Linked DNA regions of Homo sapiens: region 2 is linked to region 1. Evidence: promoter capture Hi-C in 16 types of primary human blood cells and fetal thymus (Javierre and others, 2016). All regions are on one chromosome and are shown on one strand. The core of a region is centred on a gene start or on the middle of the fragment in contact, and the rest is flanking DNA. Distances in the headings are between cores, read along the strand shown.

The links. The method cuts DNA at HindIII sites, captures the fragments that hold promoters and counts their contacts. A CHiCAGO score of 5 or more calls a contact.
Region 2: a fragment that was not itself captured here is called in contact with the fragment with the promoter of CDKN2D in region 1 in 1 of 17 cell types (activated CD4 T cells); the score reaches 5.8 in activated CD4 T cells.

The regions. Positions count from the first base shown.
Region 1 is chr19:10,566,909-10,572,365 of GRCh38, forward strand. It overlaps CDKN2D (cyclin dependent kinase inhibitor 2D), which reads right to left and starts at 2,071. Exons shown (of 2, transcript NM_001800.4): 1 at 1,605-2,071; 2 at 1-509. The coding sequence starts at 1,745. The coding sequence ends at 150. RefSeq lists enhancers at 291-798, 1,238-1,407 and a silencer at 1,688-2,337. The HindIII fragment of the contact is 9,110 bases long and covers 1-5,457 here.
Region 2 is chr19:9,930,232-9,935,688 of GRCh38, forward strand. The region is part of intron 1 of OLFM2 (olfactomedin 2); the gene reads right to left. Among named protein-coding and RNA genes, the nearest start is that of OLFM2, 3.6 kb to the right of the region's middle. The HindIII fragment of the contact is 673 bases long and covers 2,158-2,830 here.

The sequences.
Region 1 (5,457 bases), core at 821-3,320:
ACCCCCAAAACCAACACCTATAAGCCACAAACTGTGCTCCTCCCCTACTGCAGCAGTGGGCAGGAGAAACAAGAAGAGAAAGTGTTTCTTCCCCTCTCTTCTGATACATAACCCCACGGGGTTCTCTTGCTGGAGAGGGTGACCCCAGATCACAGCGGGGCCACCATGTGGCCCTGCAGGATGTCCACGAGGTCCTGAGCCCCTCTCTGCAGTGCCAGCTCCAAGGGTGTGAGACCCCTGGCGTCCCTGCGATGGAGATCAGATTCAGCTGCCAGAAAGCTGACCACAGCAGTGTGACCCTCTTGAACTGCCAGATGGATTGGAAGTGCCCCGGTGCCATCAGGCACGTTGACATCAGCCCCGTGCTCCACTAGGACCTTCAGGGTGTCCAGGAATCCAGTGCGGGCTGCGTCATGGACTGGACTGGTACCGGAGGTGTCCTGGACATTGGGGCTGGCACCTTGCTTCAGCAGCTCCAGGGCGATGGCGGTGCTGCCAAACATCATGACCTGTGTGAGGGACAGAGGATCAGGAGGTCCTCAAGGGAGGAGGTTCCACAAAAGGGGTCACTGGAAAGAGAAGGGTCATCCAGAAAGAGGCATCTCCCAGAAACAGGAAATGCTAGAGGAGGGGTCCTCTAGTGAACGGAGAAGCTGCATAAGCCCCCAGGAAAGTTCTTCTGGGAATAGGGACCCCCCCCAAAAGCTGGTCACTCCCTTAAGAATGAGACCCCCCAACCCAGAGAACAGCCCCCCATGGAAACTTTCAAGGAACCTAAGACTCTCCCCCAAGGGACCAAAGACGCCCCCAGATATGGGCAATCACCAGGAAACAGAAAATCCCCTCCAGGAAATGGGCCCCCAGAGATGGAGAACTACCCCCAAAGAATTGATAGTCCTCATAAGGGAAAAAAGATGTCAAAGGAAAGCGAACCCCTTCTCCAGGAAATAGCCTCCTCCTACATAATGGTGATGTCACCTCAGAGTACCTGAGAGCTCCTTTCAAGAAGCGGGATTCCAAAAGTAATAATAAAAGAGAAACGAGACTTCCCTGTAAAATGTCTCCCAGGGAATATAGGGATGTCTTGCAATCTGACATTGTTCCTCCATTGGGGCCCCCATACTATATCAAGGATCCGCATAACCTTTAGGAATGAAGACCCCACCCCCAAGTAACCAGATTTGTCTCAGAGAGCCCCCTACAAAATGAGGAACCCCTAGAGACAGGACCTCTCCTTCCAGAGATCGGATCTCCCCATAGAAGCCCCAAGAAACGTGAGCCGTCCCCATGGAAACGGCATCCAAAGGAGCTGAACCCGCACCCACGGAATAAGAACCTCCCCAGGGAAAGTGAATCCCCGGCACTCAGAGAACCAGGAATCCTCCCAGAGAAGATGCTAAAAAGCTCTCCCCTCCCCCCACAACCTAGCCTCACCCACCACCCACCTTCGAAGGGGGACTGTGGGGGAACAATGAAAGCCTAGAGAAGAAGGACCGGTTCCCAGTGGGTCACCACCAGGGCCAGGAGACCAGAGAGGAGCTCTGGGGTCTCGATCCTCATCCCGCTTAGCCGCCCCGCCCCAACCTGGACCGGCCCGGCCTCACCTGCAGCGCCGTCTTGCCGAAGCGGTTGAGGGCGTCGGGATGCACCAGCTCCCGGTGCAGAAGGCGGCGCACCTCCTGCACGTCGCCCCGGGCCGCCGCCCCACTCAGCCGGTCGCCGGCGCGAACCTCCTCCAGCAGCATGTCGACACTGGCGGCCTGCAAAGCCCCCCGCCCCGCCCCAGCCCGGCGCTGTCAGCGCGGAGCAGCCGGCGGGCGCTGGCCCGAACAGCCCTCCCGGGGCGCGGCCGCGGTGCACCCGGCTGCGCTGCTCTCCCGTCCCGGCTCCCCAGCCCGAGACCCCGGCCCTCCCGGCGGGCTCCTCCCCCTGTCAGCCGGAGGACGGCGAGGGGCTGGGAGCCGGGCCCAACCCTCGGCCGCCCGCGGGGCCCTGCCCGGCGCCCGCCCCTTGGGGGCCGGGTCTCCCCCTAACTCACCCTCCCTCCTCCTCGCCGGGCGGGGTCTGCTCTGAGCCTGCGCCGCCGCCGCCGCTGAGGCAGCCGCCAGGGGGCGGAGCCAACGTGCTCCCGGCCACGCCCCGAACGCAACTGATTTGTTTTCTTACAAACTCGCTACTGTGTAGCGGCACCGCGTTGCCCGGCGCGCGACCTTACGGCGTTCCGCCCACAGGGCCTGCATAACCAGTGGCTGCGCGTCGCCGGGGAAACTTCGGGCTCGGCGTGAAACGCGTCGCTCCTGATTGGTCAGAGTGTGGCAACCGGTGGACCGCCGGCAATGGCGGGGTTTTCGGTTTTCAAATGAACCCGGCAGGCGGGAAAGAAGGCTGGTTTAACTGACCCAGGGAGAAAGGTCAGGGGCAGGGTCGCGCGGGCTGCTCTGGGACCTCGGCGCCTCCTGAGGGAAGGGAGGCAGGGCTGGAGCCACCCAATCCGAGGTTCCACTACTAATAGACATTCATTGGCCCTTACTACGAGCTGGGCGCTTTATTTCATTCATTTATTCATTCACTGTGTGCAGGGAGCGTCCTGGGAGCTGGACGCGCACATTCAAACAACCAAATAATATTAGATAGTGTCAAGCACCGTGAAGAAAGGGAAACGGAGAGACGGAGTGGATGAGGAAGGGATCACCCTGCCGGGCTCAGACTGAGCCAGCAGGAAAGGAGCCTGCAGCTGCCACGTGGGAAGGCCTGAGAGGACATAGTCGCAGCCAGACAGGGACTCAGAGGTCTTCGTTCAAATATTTACTTAGCACCTCCTAGAGGGGCCCGAGTGGAGAGCACGCCAGTCGGCCCCTGCTGCAGGGACACCTATGGTCTGGGGCCAGAGACAATAGTTAATTTTTATTTATATATGTATTTATTTTTGAGTCAGGGTCTCACTCCTGTCACCCGGGCCGGCGTGCAGTGGCGCGATCACAGCTCACTGCAGCCTCGACTTCCCGGGCTCAAGTGATCCTCCTGCCTCAGCCTCCCGAGTAGCTGGGACTACAGGGCGCACCACCACGCCCGGCTAATTTGTGTTTTTAGTAGATATGAGGTTTCACTATGTTGCCCAGGCTGGTGTTTTTTGTTTGTTATTTGTGTTTGGCTTTTAAATACAGATTTTTTTTTTTATGTTGGGGTTCTTGCTTTGTTGCCCAGGCTGGTCCCGAATTCCTGGGCTCAACGGATCCTTCTGCCTTGGCCTCCAAAAGTGCTGGGATTACAGGCGTGAGCTCCTGCTCTCCGCCAATAGTTAAATCTTTTTAGAGTGGTAGAGGACTGACCAGATGAGCCATTGAAACGGAAAGGCAAAAAGCCGGGCGCGGTGGCTCACACCTGTAATCCCAGCACTCTGGGAGGCTGAGGTGGGCGGATCACGAGGTCAGGAGTTCAAGACCAGCCTGACCAACATGGTGAAACCCCGTCTCTACCAAAAATATAAAAAATTAGCCGGGCGAGGTGGCGGGCGCCTGTAGTCCCAGCTACTCGGGAGGCTGAGGCAGGAGAATGGCGTGAACCCCAGGGGGCGGAGCCTGCAGTGAGCCGAGATTGCGCCACTGCACTCCAGCCTGGGCGACAGCGAGACTCCGTCTCAAAAAAAAAAAAAAAAAAAAAAAAATTAGCTGCGCCTGGTGGCACGCACCTGTAATCCCAGCTACTCAGGAGGCTGAGACAGGAGAATCGCTTGAACCCAGGAGGCGGAGGTCGCAGGAGCCGAGATCGCGCCATTGTACTCCAGCCTGGGCAACAGAGTGAGACTCTGTCTCAAAAAAAAAAAAAAAAGAAAAGAAAAGAAAAGAAAAAGAAACGCAAAGGCAGGGAGGGCCTCCCTGAAGAGGTGACATTTGATTTGAGACCTAAAGGTGAGGGAGGGAGACTTGTGGTTATATGGGGAAAAGCACACCAGCTGGGAGGCACAGCAGATGCTAAGGCCCAGAGGTGAGAGCGTGCCTGGTGTGGTACAGAGCAGGGGAGAGCAGGTAGGTGGGGTATCAGGATGGCAATTGTGCAAATCAAGCCATGGCTTTTTTATTTATTTATTTATTTTAATTTTTTTTTAATTTTTTTTTTGAGACGGAGTCTCACTCGCCCAGGCCAGAGTGCAGTGGCGCTATCGCGGCTCACTGCAAGCCCCGCCTCCCGGGTTCACGCCATTCTCCTGCCTCAGCCTCCCGAGTAGCTGGGACTACAGGCGCCCGCCACCGTGCCCGGCCTTTTTTTTTTTTTTTTTTTTTTTTTGAGACAGAGTCTTGCTCTGTCGCCCACGCCCGACCAGGCCATGGCTTTAATAAGATAGGAATGCCGAGCGAAGTGGCTCACACCTGTAATTCCAACATTTTGGGAAGCTGAGGCGGGTGGATCACCTGAGGTGGGGAGTTCGAGACCAGACTAGCCAACATGGTGAAATCCCATCTCTATTAAAAAATACAGGCCGGGCGCAGTGGCTCACGCCTGTAATCCCAGCATTTTGGGAGGCCGTGGCGGGCGGATCACGAGGTCAGGAGATTGAGACCATCCTGGCTAATACGGTGAAACACCGTCTCTACTAAAAATACAAAAAATTAGCCAGGCGTGGTGGCGGGCGCCTGTAGTCCCAGCTACTTGGGAGGCTGAGGCAGGAGAATGGTATGAACCCGGGAGGCGGAGCTTGCAGTGAGCCGAGATCACGCCACTGCACTCCAGCCTGGGCGACAGAGCAAGACTCTTGTCTCAAAAAAAAAAAAAAATTAAGCCAGGCGCGGTGGCTCACGCCGGTAATCCTAGCACTTTGGGAGGCCAAGGCGGGCGGATAATGAGGTCAGGAGTTTGAGACCAGCCTGACCAACATGGTGAAACCCCGTCTCTACTAAAAATAACAATAATTAGTGGGGCATGGTGGCGCACGCCTGTAATCCCAGCTACTCAGCAGGCTGAGGCAGGAGAATCGCTTGAACCTGGGAGGTGGAGGTTGCAGTGAGCCGAAATCGCGCCACTGCACTCCAGCCTGGGCGACAGAGCGAGACTCCGTCTCAAAAAAACAAAAACAAAAACAAAAATTAAGCCAGGCGCAGTGGCTCATGCCTGTAATCCCAGCACTTTGGGAAGCCGAGGCGGGCAGATCATGAGGTCAGGAGTTCGAGACCAGCCTGGCCAACATGGTGAAACCGGTCTCTACTAAAAATACAAAAATTAGCTAGGTGTGGTGATGGGCGCCTGTAATCCCAGCTACTCGGGAGGCTGAGGCAGAAGAATCGCTTGAACCCGGGAGGCGGAGGCTGCAGTGAGCCGAGATCGCACCACTGCACTACTCCAGCCTTGGCGACAGACTGAGACTCCGTCTCAAACAAAACAAACAAACAAACAGACAAAAAAAGCCAGGCGTGATGGTGGGCGACTACGACTATAATCCCAGCTACTCGGGAGGCTGAGGCA
Region 2 (5,457 bases), core at 1,244-3,743, 640 kb before region 1:
GGCAAGTTATGCAAGTGCAGAGGGGGAGCCCATATTTATTTAAAAATTTGTTTTTATTCATTATAGATTTTTCTTGCATCAATTTAGATTTTTCTTAAAATGTTCCATTAAAATATTATTTATCTTGGTTACTGGTTTTTATTTTTTTGGGGGGCATACCCTTAAATTTTGTACTATAGCTGAACTCTGTACCATGTACCTGTCACCCTAGCTACTCAGGAGGCTGAGGCAGAAGAATCACTTGAGCCCAGGAGTTGGAGGCTTCAGTGAGCTATGACTGCACCACTGCACTCCAGCATGGGTGACAGAACAAGACCCCGTCTTAGAAATAGGCCCGGCACCGTGGCTCACGCCTGTAATCCCAGCACTTTGGGAGGCCAAGGCGGGCAGATCATCTGAGGTCTGGAGTTCGAGACCAGAGTGGGCAACGTGGTGAAACCCTGTCTCTATTAAAAATACAAAAAAAAAAAAATTTAGCCGGCTGTGGTGCTGTGCGCCTATAATCCCAGCTACTCGAGAGGCTGAGCAGGAGAATCGCTTGAACCCGGGAGGCAGAGATTGCAGTGAGCCGAAATCGCACCACTGCACTCCAGTGTGGACGACACAGCAAGACTCTGTTTCAAATATCATCATCATCATCATCATCAACTTTTTAAAATGTTTGCACCCGCGGCGAGTATCTCACCTGTTTTACCCTGACCTGGGCACCCCCATCCCACATACGCACGCGCCCACGCACAGGTGCACAACCACACACATTCACCCACCAGTCACACAGACGCACACAGTCCCTGCACAAACCTCACTCGACCACTAGATGTCGCTCAAGCTCCATAATCTTAAATCCAGCCCCAAGGGGCTCTTTCCTACACTAACTCGGAGTCTTTAAATTTCCTTTTACTTCCCTCCACTGGGACATTTACATGCTCTAAAGGAGCCCCAGGAGAACATCGTCTTACCCCTAAACAACAGTGCCCTATCGGTGGAATGTCAGGCACAGGTAAAGAAGATGGGTTTTCTTTCTTTCTTTTTTGTGGAGACAGGGTCTCAGTCTGTCGCCCAAGCTGGAGTGCAGTAGTGCAATGATAGCTCACTGCAGCCTCAAACTCCTGGGCTCAAGTGATCTTCACACCTCAGCCTCCTGAGTAGAACTACAAGCCTGGCCAATTTTTTTTAAAGTTACTGCAGAGGCCGGGCACGGTGGCTCACGCCTGTAATCCCAGCAGTTTAGGAGGCCGAGGCAGACAAATCAAGATGTCAGGAGTTCGAGACCAGCCTGGCCAAAATGGTGAAACCCCATCTCTACTAAAAATACAAAAATTAGCTGGGTGTGGTGGCACGCCCCTGTAGTCCCAGCTACTCGGGAGGCTGAGGCACTAGAATCTCTTGAGCCCGGGAGGCAGAGGTTGCAGTGAGCTGAGATCATCACAATACTGTACTGTACTCCAGCATGGGTGACAGAACAAGACTCCATCTCAAAAATAAAAAAAAAAAAAGAAATAAAAAGAAAAAGTTATTGTAGAGATGGGATCTTGCTGTATTGCCCAGGCTGGTCTCAAATTCCTGGCCTCAAGAGACCCTCTGGCTTTGGTCTCCCAAAATGCTGGGATCATAGGTATCAGCCATCACACCTGGCCTGAAGAATGGATTTTCTTGGTGCCTTCCATCCAGGAGCGAGTGTTCCCCTGACACTCTCTTGATAAAAGAATCCTGTGGTTTGAGAAAGAAAGACACTCTGTGTGTGTGAGGGGGTCCATCCATCCATCCATTCATCCATTCAGCAGATATTTCTTGAGCACCTACTGTGTGTCAGGCTCTGCTCTAGACACTGGAGAAACAACAAAGCTAGCTGAACCCTGATAAACTGCCGCTCTAGTGGGGAAACAGAGAATGAATGAATAGAAGAATCATAGAAATGTGGAAACGAGGGCTATAAAGAAAAATATGGCCGGGCGTGGTGGCTCATGCCTATAATCCCAGCACTTTGGGCGGCAGATCACCTGAGGTCAGGAGTTCAAGACCAGCCTGGCCAACATGGTGAAACCCTGTCTCTACTAAAAATACAACAAAAACTAGCTGGGCATCAGGTGGCACGTGCCTGTAGTCCCAGCTACTCGGGAGGCTGAGGCACGAGAATCACTTGAACCGGTGAGGCAAAGCTTGCAGTGAGCCGAGATTGCGCCACTGCACTCCAGCCCAGGCAACAGAGTGAGACTCAGTCTCAAAAAAAAAAAAAAAAAGAAAGAAAGAGAGAGAAAGAAAAAGAACACGGAGTAAGCACTCAGAGAGTGGCAGCAGGGGGCTATTTCACTTAGCTGTTCAGGGTGAGCCTCTTGGAGGAGGTGACATTTAAGCAGAAATCAGAGATAAATAGCTACCAGGGGGAACAGTGTCACAGGCAGAGGGAACAGCAAGTGTGAAGTCCCTGAGGCACGTGATCTAAACTGAATTATTCCTTCTCCCCATCCTCTGAAAGCCCCAGGAAAGAGTTGGTCCCAAACCCAGATAGTGCCAACGATGTAGCTAGATCTTAGGGAGGCCTTCGCAGGGATCAGGAAGGCATCTTTTCCACAAGGAAAATAGTGGGGCTCAGAACTGTCAAGCTCTCTGGTAGTCACTCCCAGGCCAGAACCCAGAACATCTTGGATAGATCCTGGATGAATGGACAATGCCTCTGACAGGCCCTGCTTTCCTGTTCTCCTGCTCTCTGGGTCAAATCCAAACTTCTGCCCACAGCTTACAAGTTCCTAAGTGGTCTGGCTTCCCCGGCCTCATCTCCCCGCGACCTCTCCAGCCACACCAGCGTCCACACTGCTTCTGAAACTCACCAAGCTTGTTCTTACCCCAGGGCCTTTGCACCTTCTGTTCCTCCCACCTTCAATGCTCTTCCCCCAGACACCCACAAGGCTCCCTCTCTCACCTCCTTCAGATGTCACCTGAAACACTACTTCCTTAGAGACACCTTCCCTGACCACACTGGCTCAAATAGCCCCCACCTTGTAATCTTTTTCTGTTTTTTTGCTTTGAGACAGTCTTGTTCTGTTGCCTAGGCTGGAGTGCAGTGGCATGACCTTGGCTCACTGGAACCTCTGCCTCCCAGGTTCAAGCAATTCGCCTGCCTCAGCCTCCTGAATAGCTGGGACTACAGGTGTGCAACACCACACCTGGCTAATTTTTTGCATTTTTAGTAGAGACGGGGTTTCACCATGTTGGCCGGGCTGGTCTCAAACTCCTGACCTCAAGTGATCCACTCACCCTGGCCTCCCAAAGTGCTGGGATTACAGGCGTGAGCCTCCATGCCCGACTGCTATCACTCTAATCTTTTTTTTTTTTTTTTTTTTTTGAGACAGAGTTTCACTCTTGTTGTCCAGGCTGGAGTGCAATGGCGATCGCAGCTCACCGCAACCTCTGCCTCCCAGGTTCAAGCAATTCTCCTGCCTCAGCCTCCCTAGTAGCTGGGATTACAGGCGCCTGCCACCACACCCAGCTAATTTTTTGTATTTTTAGTAGAGACAGGGTTTCACTATGTTGGCCAGGCTGGTCTCGAACTCCTGACCTCAGGCGATCCACTTGCCTCAACTTCCCAAAATGCTGGGATTACAGGCGTGAGCCACAGCACCCGGCTCCAGTCTAATCTTCTATACTTTATCTGTTATTCTTCATGCTACTTGCATTGTATTATATGTATATTTAGTTGCCGACACCGTATTACATGGTTATTCGGCTCTTTTCTGTCTCCTCTGCTAGGTCAACTCCAGGAGAGCAGGGATTTGATGACTCAGTTGGTGGCTGTATCCCCAGTGCATAATCATATCTGTTCATTGAATGGATTAACCAATGATTTCTAGGAAGGACCCCTGGGCCCATCAGGGACAGGGAAGAAGTCTTTGGAAAGTGATGGAGGGAGCGAAGAGTGGGTAGAGCATCCTCTCTGCAGACCCCTCCCTTCCCTGGGGTGCCAGGCTTGGTGGGCCAACGCCAAGGGGGTGTATGGGGCGCCGAGACTGTTTCACAACCATGTAGTTCCCGCGGTGGCCGCCTGGAGGCACTGCAGCCCGCGGCAGGATTCCACCAGCCCCGCCCTAACGGATTACCTCATTTGGCCACGCCCCCGTTGTCCTTTAGCCCCGCCTCCACTGACCTCGTTAGTCCCGCCCCCAAAGCAACTCCCTCCCAGCCCTGGGGGCTGTAGGAGTCACCCTCCAATTGCAATTCTGGCAGCAAACTCTGGCATCCTAGCCAATCTTGGTGAGAAGCCAGAAAATCTAGTGCCCCCCTAGCAGGGAGTGGAGGAGAAGCCACAGGGGGTGGTTCTCTGTCTCCTCTGCTAGGTCAAGGATAATTCAACTTGATTCCTGGCTCATTTTTTTTCCACTGGTTTCTCAAGTGTGTGCCTCTTTTGGTCTCTCGTCTCCCAGGTGTGTCTCTTGGCTTCTCTCAGGCTCACACATCCATTGAGTACCTATTGTGTGTGTCCTCATGCCTGGGGCTGGGCACACTCCCTATCCCACCCAGCGCGTGGGTGCTGAGATGCGTGGGGAAATGGAGGAGCGAGGGAGGGGACCCCACAATCTCTCCTCGTGGCCTGGAAATCCTTCTATCTGGAGTCTAACCTCCATTCCTCCCAACACCCCCCTCGGGGTGAGCACAAGGGTCTGATTCTTTTCTTGATAAGGGGAAGGTGCCCAAATTGTTTCTCCCCTGCCTATCTACCTAAAAGCCCACCTAGCAATGTCTTCACGGACGCTGTCCACACCCATGGAGCGGATTATTTAACAAGAGGGTAATCGTGTGGGCTCAGGAGCCGGACTGCCTCGGTTCAGTCCCACCTCTGTCACTCTCGAGCTTGAGCAAGTGATTTAACTTTTCTGCGCCTCAGTTTCCCCATCCATAAAATGAGGTAACAATACCATGCTCTAGTAGGGAGGAGGCAGAGGGGGTTAAATGCCTTAGTCTGTGCTGTGTGATTGAAACAGCACCTCTCAAATTAGCACGTAATGAATGATCACTGTTATCATAATGACTATTTTATTATTTTTGATCCCAGCTTCCCTGTGAACTCCTACAGATCTGAGAACTTGGGGGTGCTCTCACTCCCAAGATGGAGGAGGAGAGGGGCTTTCCAATAGCAAAAGAGAGCGTGGACGCCCCACATTTTGCAAGCCTCCCTGAGCCTGCCCAAGAGAAAGGTGCCATGGGGAGGGAGACCCGCTTCTGTAAGGGTATGAATGGCGTGTGCGGTTGTGAGCAAGGCACCAAGATACACACACACACGTGCATGGATGGACACGTTTGCACACACAGCGCTTGCACACACACACACCCTTTTAGAGTGATTTACCCAAAGGTACAGAATAGCACACGCTCACTCCAAGGCTCTCACACGGCCACACACCTGGCCACACACGTATTGTACAACACCCAGTCATCTGGAGCCAGTAATGAGGACACGGTCAC